Linked DNA regions of Homo sapiens: regions 2 and 3 are each linked to region 1. Evidence: promoter capture Hi-C in 16 types of primary human blood cells and fetal thymus (Javierre and others, 2016). All regions are on one chromosome and are shown on one strand. Each heading gives the region's core, a stretch centred on a gene start or on the middle of the fragment in contact. The rest is flanking DNA. Distances are from core to core; before and after follow the strand shown. Region 1 holds the start of SIPA1L1 (signal induced proliferation associated 1 like 1). Region 2 overlaps TTC9 (tetratricopeptide repeat domain 9). Region 3 has its middle 77 kb from the start of RGS6.

What was found. The method cuts DNA at HindIII sites, captures the fragments that hold promoters and counts their contacts. A CHiCAGO score of 5 or more calls a contact.
Region 2: a fragment that was not itself captured here is called in contact with the fragment with the promoter of SIPA1L1 in region 1 in 1 of 17 cell types (neutrophils); the score reaches 5.3 in neutrophils.
Region 3: a fragment that was not itself captured here is called in contact with the fragment with the promoter of SIPA1L1 in region 1 in 3 of 17 cell types (endothelial precursors, fetal thymus and erythroblasts); the score reaches 6.5 in endothelial precursors.

Annotation. Positions count from the first base shown.
Region 1 is chr14:71,318,865-71,322,274 of GRCh38, reverse strand. It overlaps SIPA1L1 (signal induced proliferation associated 1 like 1), which reads right to left and starts at 1,799. Exons shown (of 24, transcript NM_001386936.1): 1 at 1,772-1,799; 2 at 1,094-1,153. SIPA1L1-AS1 (SIPA1L1 antisense RNA 1) reads left to right here and starts at 427. Exons shown (of 4, transcript NR_184180.1): 1 at 427-601. RefSeq lists a silencer at 881-1,900 and an enhancer at 2,161-2,320. The HindIII fragment of the contact is 21,627 bases long and covers 1-3,410 here.
Region 2 is chr14:70,646,869-70,650,278 of GRCh38, reverse strand. The region is part of intron 1 of TTC9 (tetratricopeptide repeat domain 9); the gene reads right to left. Among named protein-coding and RNA genes, the nearest start is that of TTC9, 6.7 kb to the right of the region's middle. The HindIII fragment of the contact is 2,739 bases long and covers 545-3,283 here.
Region 3 is chr14:71,853,438-71,856,847 of GRCh38, reverse strand. No RefSeq gene overlaps it. Among named protein-coding and RNA genes, the nearest start is that of RGS6, 77 kb to the left of the region's middle. RefSeq lists an enhancer at 517-586. The HindIII fragment of the contact is 996 bases long and covers 1,213-2,208 here.

The sequences.
Region 1 (3,410 bases), core at 550-3,049:
ACAGGAGAAAGTTGACACTTAACTCCCACAGAGTACCAGCATAAAGACAATGGCTTTAAGAGTCTGACTCAGAGTTTCAACATGAAAGGTTTGCTTTATAGAGGAAACGCCAATCCCAGTCCATCCAGATAGACCTGGAACCTGATGAAAGTCGACACCTTTATTCTGAAATTTGCATCACATCGCTGGCTCCAGTTTAGAAACATGATCGTTTCACAGGTAGTATGCATTTCAGCGAATGCTGCCTCTAAACTACCCGTCAGGAAAAATAAAATCTATAAGGTAATCGTAGTCTAGGAGCCATCAATCCCCAAATGCTTCTCTTAGAAAACGAATGCCAACAATTTAGCTAAACATCTTCCTTGGAAGTGAGCCATTTCCCATGTCTCTCTGTTCTCCAAACCGCGATGAAATTTCAACCTGCCCAACACGATTACTGGTCCACCTAGAAATGCCGTGGAGCGATTTAAGAGCCTCGGAAATTTCCTTTAAGGTCAGGAGAGAAGCTGGTAACAGATGGGGCGAAGGAGGAAAAGTTCTTTTTGCGGCACCCTCACGCCTTCCCAGCCCTTTCGCGGTTTACTCGCTCCCCGGAAAGCAGGTTAGAGCATCCCAAAATTTCATGTCCCCAAGACCCCCAAAGGGGAAATTAACCACCCTCGGGCACCGAGCTGTTCGTCTCCATTTCCCACAACTCAACCAACTCGGCCTGCCTACTCCAGCTCAGGCTGCAAAGCGCTCACCCAGGTGACTGGAGGGGAAGGGTCGCCAGGTGGCGACCAGCTCAGCGGGGTGGACGCAACCGCCCGGACCGGGACGCGGGTCTCCTGGCCTCCCGCAGAGACGCCTGCCCAGTAGTTGTGCAGATTCGGGTTCTGGGGTGCGTGCGCGCGCGCCGGGCGCGGTGAAGCCGGACTCGCCCCCGCCGGGCTAAGCTACCAGCAAGCCACCAAATCGAAAATCAAACTTTAACCGGCCTCCTGGGGTCCTGCTCCGGGCCCTGGACCCCAACCCCGGCCAGAAACAGGGCAGGGGGCTGTCAGCCGTCCTGCACCCCCGCTCCCCCCAGGACCCGGGCGCGGGGACCACTTACCGCTCGGCCCGGCCTCCCGGTGCCGCCGCGCGTCCCGGGCGCGTCCGCCGCGCGCTCTCCCTGGGGAGAAAGAGAAACCGTGTAGACGGCCGGCGCGCGCTCACTCGCCGCCTCCTCTGCGGAGAGCGGCGAGGCCGGCCCGAGGCGGGCGCCGAGCGCGGAGCGGAGGGGGGCCCGAGGGAGGCGGGGGTGGAATCAGCCCAATTCCCGAGGCTGGCTCCGAGGGGGACCCGGAATACAGGCTGGCGGGGGGCCGGCGGGGGCCGAGCTCCCGGAGGAGGGGAAGGCGGAGGTGGCCCCGTCCTTGGGCATCAACTATTGTCTAGGCGCCCGGGCCCCCGCTCGCGCCGTCCCCGAGGCTCAGCGCCCCCATCCCGCCCGCCAGCAGAAAGAACTGAGGGGGCGGCCAGTACGGGAAGCAAGTGCGGGGGTCCGGGCTCCGAAGGTCCAAGGTGGGCGCGAGGTTGCCGGGGGGGGGATGAGGAGGTGCGTACCGCATGGGGGAGGGGACAGGTAAGTGCGGACGGGGGCGGGAAGGCCCCAACGACCGGTGGGGGAGGAAATGGGGAGGGAGCCACAGAGGCGGGAGGGAATGGAGTGGCTGCGGGGGCGGCCTCTGGGGCCCAGACCTGGCCCTCCCCGGGGACCCTCCAGCCGGGGACTCGGCGCTGCACTGACTTTTCGCTCACTCGCTCACGCACGCACTGAACTCGCTCACAAAGTTGCCGGCAGTGGCGGCGCCTCACTCGCCCTTCCCCTCCCCGCCCCGCCTCCCGCCCCATTCCTTCCCCTCCTTCACTCCTCCCTCTCCCCCAAGTCTCGGGTGAGATCACCACGGAGCGGCTTAGCGCGGCGCACAAGTCTCGCGAGAGAAGCGGCGGCTGGGCCCTGCAGGCGGAGGAAGTGGAAAAAGTCGCGGGAGGGTAGGGGACCGCGGAACTTCTGGTTGCTATGACGACGGCAAAGCCCTGGATTCCTGTCTCCTGCGGAGAGCAGAGGCTGCAAACGTGGGTGCAGTTTTCAACCTGCCCGGCGCACTGGCGGTGGGGAAAGCTAGGGGTGGTTGCGGAAGGATAATTTTTAAGCCGATTCAAGAGGGCATCTCGAGAGGACCACAGTCATGATATCTGGCCAAATTTGGCAAATGAGACTAATGTATTAAGAGGTTCTGGGACAGGTTTCTGCCTTTCTAGGCAGCACATATCTGCACCCCAAATTTCTACTATATATTCAGTTTTTCGGCCTTCTCTTTCAATCTAATTCCTCCATCCCCACACTCCCCATGCTGCCTCCCTCCTCCTCTTCTCAACTCGCAAACACACGCAGACTGGGCTCCTTCAGGAACTGGCTCATTCATCTCTGTATTCTCAGCGCCTCTATAGGCTTGGTCCATACTACATATTGGCCACTTTTTTGACAAGTTGAACGCAACAGTCCATGCCTGTCCTCAGTACTTGCCTTTGGCCCTAACCTAGAGAGTTCAGTCAAGTTTGGACTCTATCAAGCTACCCTCCCATTTCTGTTAACACCTTGTCTTTTTCAATGGTAATAATCTCTGCTTTCTCCATATTTTTCTCGTAAAAACCCTATTCACCATGGTGAGGGGAACTTTTTTTTTAATCATTAGGCATCCGCAGACGCCTTTATACGTACTCCAAAATGCTAGTAAGGATGAAGATGAACTCTCCTCAGCCCGTGTCTTTTAACTGTAGAAACTTTTCTGAGGTGAGGGTTATTATATACTCACTGCCTAAGTAAAATGGATATTATGAATAGAAGTTAAACTTTAGATTTCAAAATGAATGAGTAAAAATAGATACCATTGTATGTGGATTATATCTCAATTTTTAAAATTCCTATCCATGAACATGGGGAAACCATTATTTAACTCAGTCCCACAGAACTAGAAACCTAAAGCATAACCTAAGCATATGAGGACTAGGCAGTCAAAACTTGTAAGTCACTTGCAAGTTTAAATCCTGTCAATGAAAGTTTGTGTATTAGAAACCTAAGTGATACTAGACAAAGTCAGCAAACTAGGGTTTACGTTTTTCTGTGCCACTAATAATTGAGTCTCCTTGAGAAGTTATTTAATCTCTCTGATTCTTCATCTGTGGGGGGTACCCCACATGTTAGGTTATTACAGCTTTAAAATTCTATAGCTGGCCGGCATGGTGGCTCACATGCATAATCCCAGCACTTTGGGAGGCCCAGGTGGGAAGACTGCTTGAAGCCAGGAGTTTGAGACTATCCTGGGCAACATAGAGAGACCCTGTATCTACAAAAATAAAAAATATTAGCTAGGTATACTGACATG
Region 2 (3,410 bases), core at 665-3,164, 670 kb after region 1:
GCTAATTTTTGTATTTTTAGTAGAGACAGGGTTCTCACCATGTTGGCCAGACTGGTCTCAAACTCCTGACTTCAGGTGATCTACCCACCTTGGACTCCAAAAGTGCTGCACCGCTGTGAGCCACTGTGCCCAGCCAAGTATATTCTTTAATGGCTGAAATGAACTCCTACTCTTCACATTTCTACTTCGATTTCTCAAGACCTCTTAACTGGAATTCACACACCCTAAAGCAAGGGAGGAAGAAAAGAGGAGAGACATGGGCGGGGATTCTGCAGTCTCTATGTTCATTAGAAATTATGACTCACAGGGCTTCTCACTCCCCACTGTCCATACAAATTCAGGTCACCTTCCTACTGACATGGCAGGACCTAGGGAAACAATGACCTGGTTTCAGAACACAGGACACTTTCCCCTTAACCACCCAGGATGGCCATGGAATGGAAGTCCTAATCACACAAGGCACGTTCACAGTAAAAGGATGTCTAACTGCCAGAAGGAAAGACTGGAAGATGGGCAAGAGAGTTACCCTAAAAATGTCAAAGCTTGTCTTTGCTACAGAGATGATATATACTCTGTGTTGCTTCAAAGAGTAGAATATTGATGGATTAAAAGAAATTTCAGTGAGACAAGTTTTATTATCTAAGGAAGAAACCCCTAAAGATGGAGGTGGTAGGGTGAATGGCTAAAACTGCAGGCTTTGGAATTACAGACCCAGTGGTTGAGAGATCCCAGTTTGCCATATACCACTATGTGACCATGGGCAAGTGATGTTAACTGTTCCAAGGTTGACTTTTCTGTCTCACAGAGTTGTACAGATCAAATGAAATTATATATACATAAGTTCATGTAAGGCGGGGATCTTGTCCTTCATATTAACTGCTATATACCCAGCCCCCAAGCCTGGAGTCTGGTGTATAATAAGTGCTCAATAAACGTTAATGGAATGATTGAATTTATTGGATCCCTAACAAGAGACAGATGCTGGGAAAAGCATTTTCATTCATTTCAAACACATTTGTGGAACATCTACTATGTGCTGGCCTCATCATGGTAATCCTTTCTGTCATTACTGATACCATTATTATTATAGTTGTTTTGGTGGTGGTGGTTGTCAAAAAGTTTGCTTCAGATGGTGGTGAATATCCCTATGATTGGAAATGCCTAGCTCATGTGGGATGACAAGCTGGTAGTATTGACAGGTGAATCCATGTACCTATATAGGGTTTGGGGTCATATCCAAATCCAAAATCAAAATTCTGATTTTACAGAAATCTTGAGCTTGTTAGTACCACTTCACACTTTTGCTGGGGATATGACATTGTACGTCTGTATAAGATAGTGAGCTTTACAGTGGTAATAAATAATTCCAAGGCCATATAAATACCACAGTTAGGCTAAACTCCTTTAATCCCTGCAGCATTATCTTTGTTTTTTTTAAGTCTGGTACCATTGTCCGAGCTAGACCTTAGAGTTGCTGCTCCGTGTCTGGGCCACACTAATCATCTGGGTGAAACGGAAAATTTTGTTCCAAATATGGACATCTGCCTTCCCAAAGGGGCTTAGGAAATCTCTAGTTGGTTGATTGAAACATTCAGTTTTCATCCTAGCTGTTTGGAGTAGGCACAGTCTGGTGGTGAAAGAGAACAGCTGTGAGGAGAGGATTTCCTTATAGTGAATCTGGAGGTCACCCACAACCAGTGAAAGCTCTGGGAGCTGCTTTTGGCTGCTCCACATCTTGGCCTTCCTGTCTGCTTTGCAGATGAATTTCCTTGCCTTGGAGGGGGCACTCCCATGTATTTTGGCTGTAGGGACTCTGATTTCAAGATGTCCTAAAGAGTTCCTGGCTAAAAGCCACCTGACTTATTTCCCTTGGAGGTGGACTAAGGAGCTTCCAAATCCACTTTAGGAACTCAGCCCAGTGTCTAAATTTGTAATGTTCTTCCCAGTACCTTCCTTGAAAGCATTCTGCAAGTTTCAATTCTCACTTTCTTCCTTGGAAGAAGGTATTACAAGCCCCATTTACTTGACCCTTAAGATTTATTGGTCAAGGTGCTACCTAAGGAACAGCCCCAGGTCAACAACAGCTTAGCCAGTCAAGCTCTCCCATCGGGATGGCAAGATCTTGGCTGAGCATCTTGACATGAGGCCTATATTCTTTTCCCTTCTTTTGACCAATCCTTACCCTAGGAATTCATCCTCTGATTGCAAGGTTACTGCTTGTCTCTAGCCCCTGACCTCCTTTTCACCACTGAGTTTTTAAATTTGTAACTCATCCATCTTTACACCAACATCTGTTGAATACCCTTTGTTCTTAGACTCTGCCTTAGAGTCTGTATCCAATTTTGTCCACCTCAGATGTATCCATCCAGCCATCTTCTGGTGTCCCATTGAGGGCTGGCTTCAAGGGTGGGCAACTTGTGCTGTTGCATAGAGCCCCACACTCAGAAGGAACCTGTACTTCATTTAATACTCTGCTATTGCCTTCTTGAAATTCTTAGTCACTTTATCTTTAAACTTGTGTTTTGTTTAAGTGAAGTCTGATGGGACAACACAGCATGAGCAGGGACAGAGGAGATGGGCACAATACCACTCTCTGCTGCCCCATTTGCATATAGCATTCACAATGCCCCAGGAGCAAAGAATTCTAGGAGCCCCATGATGCGTGAGAGTTCATCAAGACTTAATTATGCCCATAACTAAATGAATATGCTGCCAGTCCCAAAGGGCCATTCTTTCCATTCAAACTAGAAATGGCTTCAAACATGGACAAAAAAAAATGTTCTCAGAAACACAAATAATCTAGGAACCCTATCATATCCTTTCCTACCTATGTTGCTTTCCCATATTAGCCAACCACTCATGCTGAAAATGATGACACAGAAGGAAAGGGTAGGGTCACGTGTATTCCCTTTTCCTTTCCTGGCTCATCTGAAAGCCTGGTGGAAAGTGCACATATGAAGTATGCATATAAAGTACACATATAAAAAAGTGAAATAAAAATAGTTTAGTTTATTTGGTGCAGCATTTCCACTGTTCTAGTAAGAATAAATACATATGCATGTATGAGCTACAGAAGTATAAATTGTATAATTTTTATAATTCCTCATATAAGTAAAGTGTTCCTATAAGTTCATTTAAAACTGGCACCACACATCATAAAGAATAGTAAAATCTATGCTAATAATTAAATTTTAAAATTTTTTATTTGCAATGACATCAAATAGCAAATGCAAAACACCATGTCAAGTCAAGAGAAAGAGAGAACAAAAGAAAGAGAAAAGCTTTATCTTTCAGGATCTTTAGCGACACTTCCTCCCTGCCTTTTCAACAAAGAGTCCTACATTTCATTTCATGCTGGGCCCTGCAAATTATGTGGCTGGCTCTGATCCCATGGCTTTAAGACGTGTCCA
Region 3 (3,410 bases), core at 461-2,960, 530 kb before region 1:
GAGCCAAGCTGCAGTGATTGTTATCTCTCTTCTGGGTCTAGCCACTTAGCAAGTCTACCCGGCTCTGGGCTGGTACTGGGGATTGTCTGCACATAGTCCTGTGATGTGAATCATCTATGGGTCTCTCAGTGTGGATACCAGTACCTGTTCCCATGGAGGTGGCAGGGGGTGAAATGGACTCTACGAGGTTGTCAGCTTTGGTGGTTTAATGTTCTATTTTTGTGCTGGTTGGCCTACTGCCAGGAGGTGGTGCTTTCCAGAAAGCATCAGCTGTGGTAGTATTGAGAGAAAATGGCAGTGGGCGGGGCCTTAAAACTCCCAAGAGTATATGCCCTTTGTCTTCAGCTACCAGGGTGCATAGGAAAGGCCCATCAGGTCGGGGCAGGGCTAAGCATGTCTGAGATCAGACTCTCCTTGGGCAGGTCTTGCTGTGGCTGCTGTGGGGTATGGGGGTGATGTTGCAAGGTCAATAGAGTAGTGTACCTAGCAGGATTATGGCTGCCTCTGCTGAGTCATGCAGGTTGTCAGGGAAGCGGGGGAAAGCCAGCAGTCACCAGCTTCACCCAGCTCCCACGCAAACCGAAGGGCCGATCTCACTCTCACCGTGCCCCTTCTAACAGCATTGTTTCTCTGCTCAGTTACACTACTATTGGCTGTTCTGGAAATCAGCAAACCAGTCAAATATGTTGTGTTCAATAGTTCCCTGGGGTTAGCAGACGTGGGCACACCTTAAAAACACAGTCAAGGTTGTCTTCAGCAACCTGTACCAGTCCTTTCTCTCTTCTGGTCCATCTGAAGTAGGTATTTTGTTTACAAATATTTCTCCAGCATCACACTCAGGAAATCTAAGATTAAATAAAAACTAAAAAGATGGTATTTCTGAAACATATTTCCTATAACATGTCCATCAAACAGAGAATGAAGAAATTGGAAGGATGAAAATGGAAGGAGGGATGGGGCATCAGTTGAGACAGAATGGGGGGTGGTACATTTTATGAATCCTCATTCCTACAAAATGAACCGCAAAGGCAGAGGCTTCTGTGTCTCTTGTATCTCCCCACATGCCCATCATGCTTTTTAAAAATCAGGCATTAAGAATTTGGGAATAGAAGGGACATTCATTTATTAAACATCATCTAAAATCAAGAGTCTAATCTTTAAAAACCTTCTTCAGTGGAGGGAGCTCACAGCCCTCTGACATGGGGGGAAGCTTATCTTCAGGCACACAAAATGGCAGAGGCCAGCAGGGGGCAGCAGCACAGCAGGAATATTGAGGCAAGCCTGGGGTATTGGGATGCAGCCAATGAAAAGTTGGCCAACAGGAAAATCATTGTCCTCTGCCCTTGGAAGAGCTTGATTAGAACCTGGAGCTTCACATAATAATCAAGATAAGAAATTTGGTGAAGTTCAATTTTCTTTTAAATTTTTGTCATGAAAAATTTCAAACACACACACACAGAATTAAAGAGAAAAGTATAGTGAACCAATATGTCCATTCCCCAGATTCATCATTATCAACATTCTGCCATACTTCCTCACCTGAACCTATTTTCTTTCTTTCTTTCTTATTTTAGAGACAATTGGAGTTTTAAATTTTAAAGTGTGTGTTCTTTCAAGGTGAGATTTGGTGAGTAGTCAAGCTCTAGTATAGTCCCACACTGCCATGAAGGACGTAAGCTCCTTTTATCCTTCTGCTCTGACACCCTTAGGTTACCTCATGGTGGCAAGATGGCAGCTGCACTTCTGGGAATCACATCCACATCCCAGGCAGAAGGCTGGGTGTAGTGGCTCATGCCTGTAGTCTCAGCACTTTGGGAGACCAAGGCGGGCAGATCACTTGAGATCAGGAGTTCAAGATCAGCCTGGTCAACATGGTGAAATCCTATCTCTACTAAAAATTCAAAAATTAGCTGGGCCTGGTGGTGGGCGTCTGTAATCCCAACTACTCAGGAGTCTGAGGAGGGAAAATCACTTGAACTCGGGAGGCAGAGTTTGCAGTGGGACTCCATCTCAAAAACAAACAAACAAAAAAACAACCATTCCAGGCAAAAAGAAGGAAGACCCAGGTTAAAAGGCAAATGTTAAAAGGCTACTTTCAGCATGAGAGAAAAAGACAGGGTGCTGGGGGAGCAGTAAAATTCAGGGACCACCACATGGAAATTCTAATTCAGCACCAAACAAATGTGAAGCTCAGAGGTAAGATAAGCTTAAAAAGCCACCTATGAAATAGGAGAGAATACTAGGAAGTCCAGCTCAGGAAAAATGCAACTGACATTTGTGTATCACTTCTTATAGCTTGCGATGAGATCAAGACTATACATGTTATCTCATTAAATTTGTCACAGCAACCCAATCGAGTAGGTTAAATAATTTTACAGATGATGAAATGAGACCTCAAGAGACCTCGTAACTTTCTCAAGGCTACAGAGCTGGTAAATAGTGGGTCCAAAATGATCTGCTCCTTATTGTCCTAATTTCCTTATTACTGATTCTTTCAGAGATATAATATGTGTTCCTCATGAAAAAAATCTGTAATCCTCACCATCGAAGGCCACTACTGCATATACTTGATTCCAAACCAGGAGCACAAAGGTGCGCATTCTTCTCGGGTCCATTGCAGTACACTGTTCAGCAAGCTGCAGTCCTAGCTGCGCCTTTAGTACGGGGGAAGCGGGGGTCCTGGATGAGGGTCTGGGCTGGGATGAGAGACCCTCATCCCCCAGCTCAGACACATCTGCTTTAAGAAATGGCTCACGCCTGTAATCCTAGCACTTTGGGAAGCCGAGGCTGGTGGATCATGAGGTCAAGAGATTCAGACCATCCTGGTCTACATGGTGATACCCCGTCTCTACTAAAAATACAAAAAAAATTAGCTGGGCGTGGTGGCGCATGCTTGTAGTCCCAGCTACTCGGGAGGCTGAGGCAGGAAAATTGGTTGAACCCGGGAGGCAGAGGTTACAGTGAGTCAAGATAGCACCACTGCACTCCAGCCTGGTGACAGAGCAAGACTCAGTCTCAAAAAAAAAAAAAAAAAAAGAAAGAAAAAAGAAATGGAGTAAAACTTCCTTGAAGCCACTGCTCTTCCGCTCTTTCCAATAAAAGGAAATGCACGTAGATCCACTGGGCTCAGAGTGACCTCCTGTCAAGGACTTCTAAATTGTCTTCAAAGATGGAAAATATTGCTTTGTACACAGCTCTTGGGATGGATTAATCATGAGCTGAATTTCACATAAAAGCAGAGACAAGAGACTTGATGCAGTCCAACATTCTTCCTTAACTTTTTTATTAAGAAAGTTTTCAAAAGTACACAAAAGAAAAGAGAATAATATAAAAAAACTCAATACACCCATCCTTGGATTCAACAATTATTCACTTTTTGCTCCAGTTGCTTCATGTCTTCCTTTTGGTCA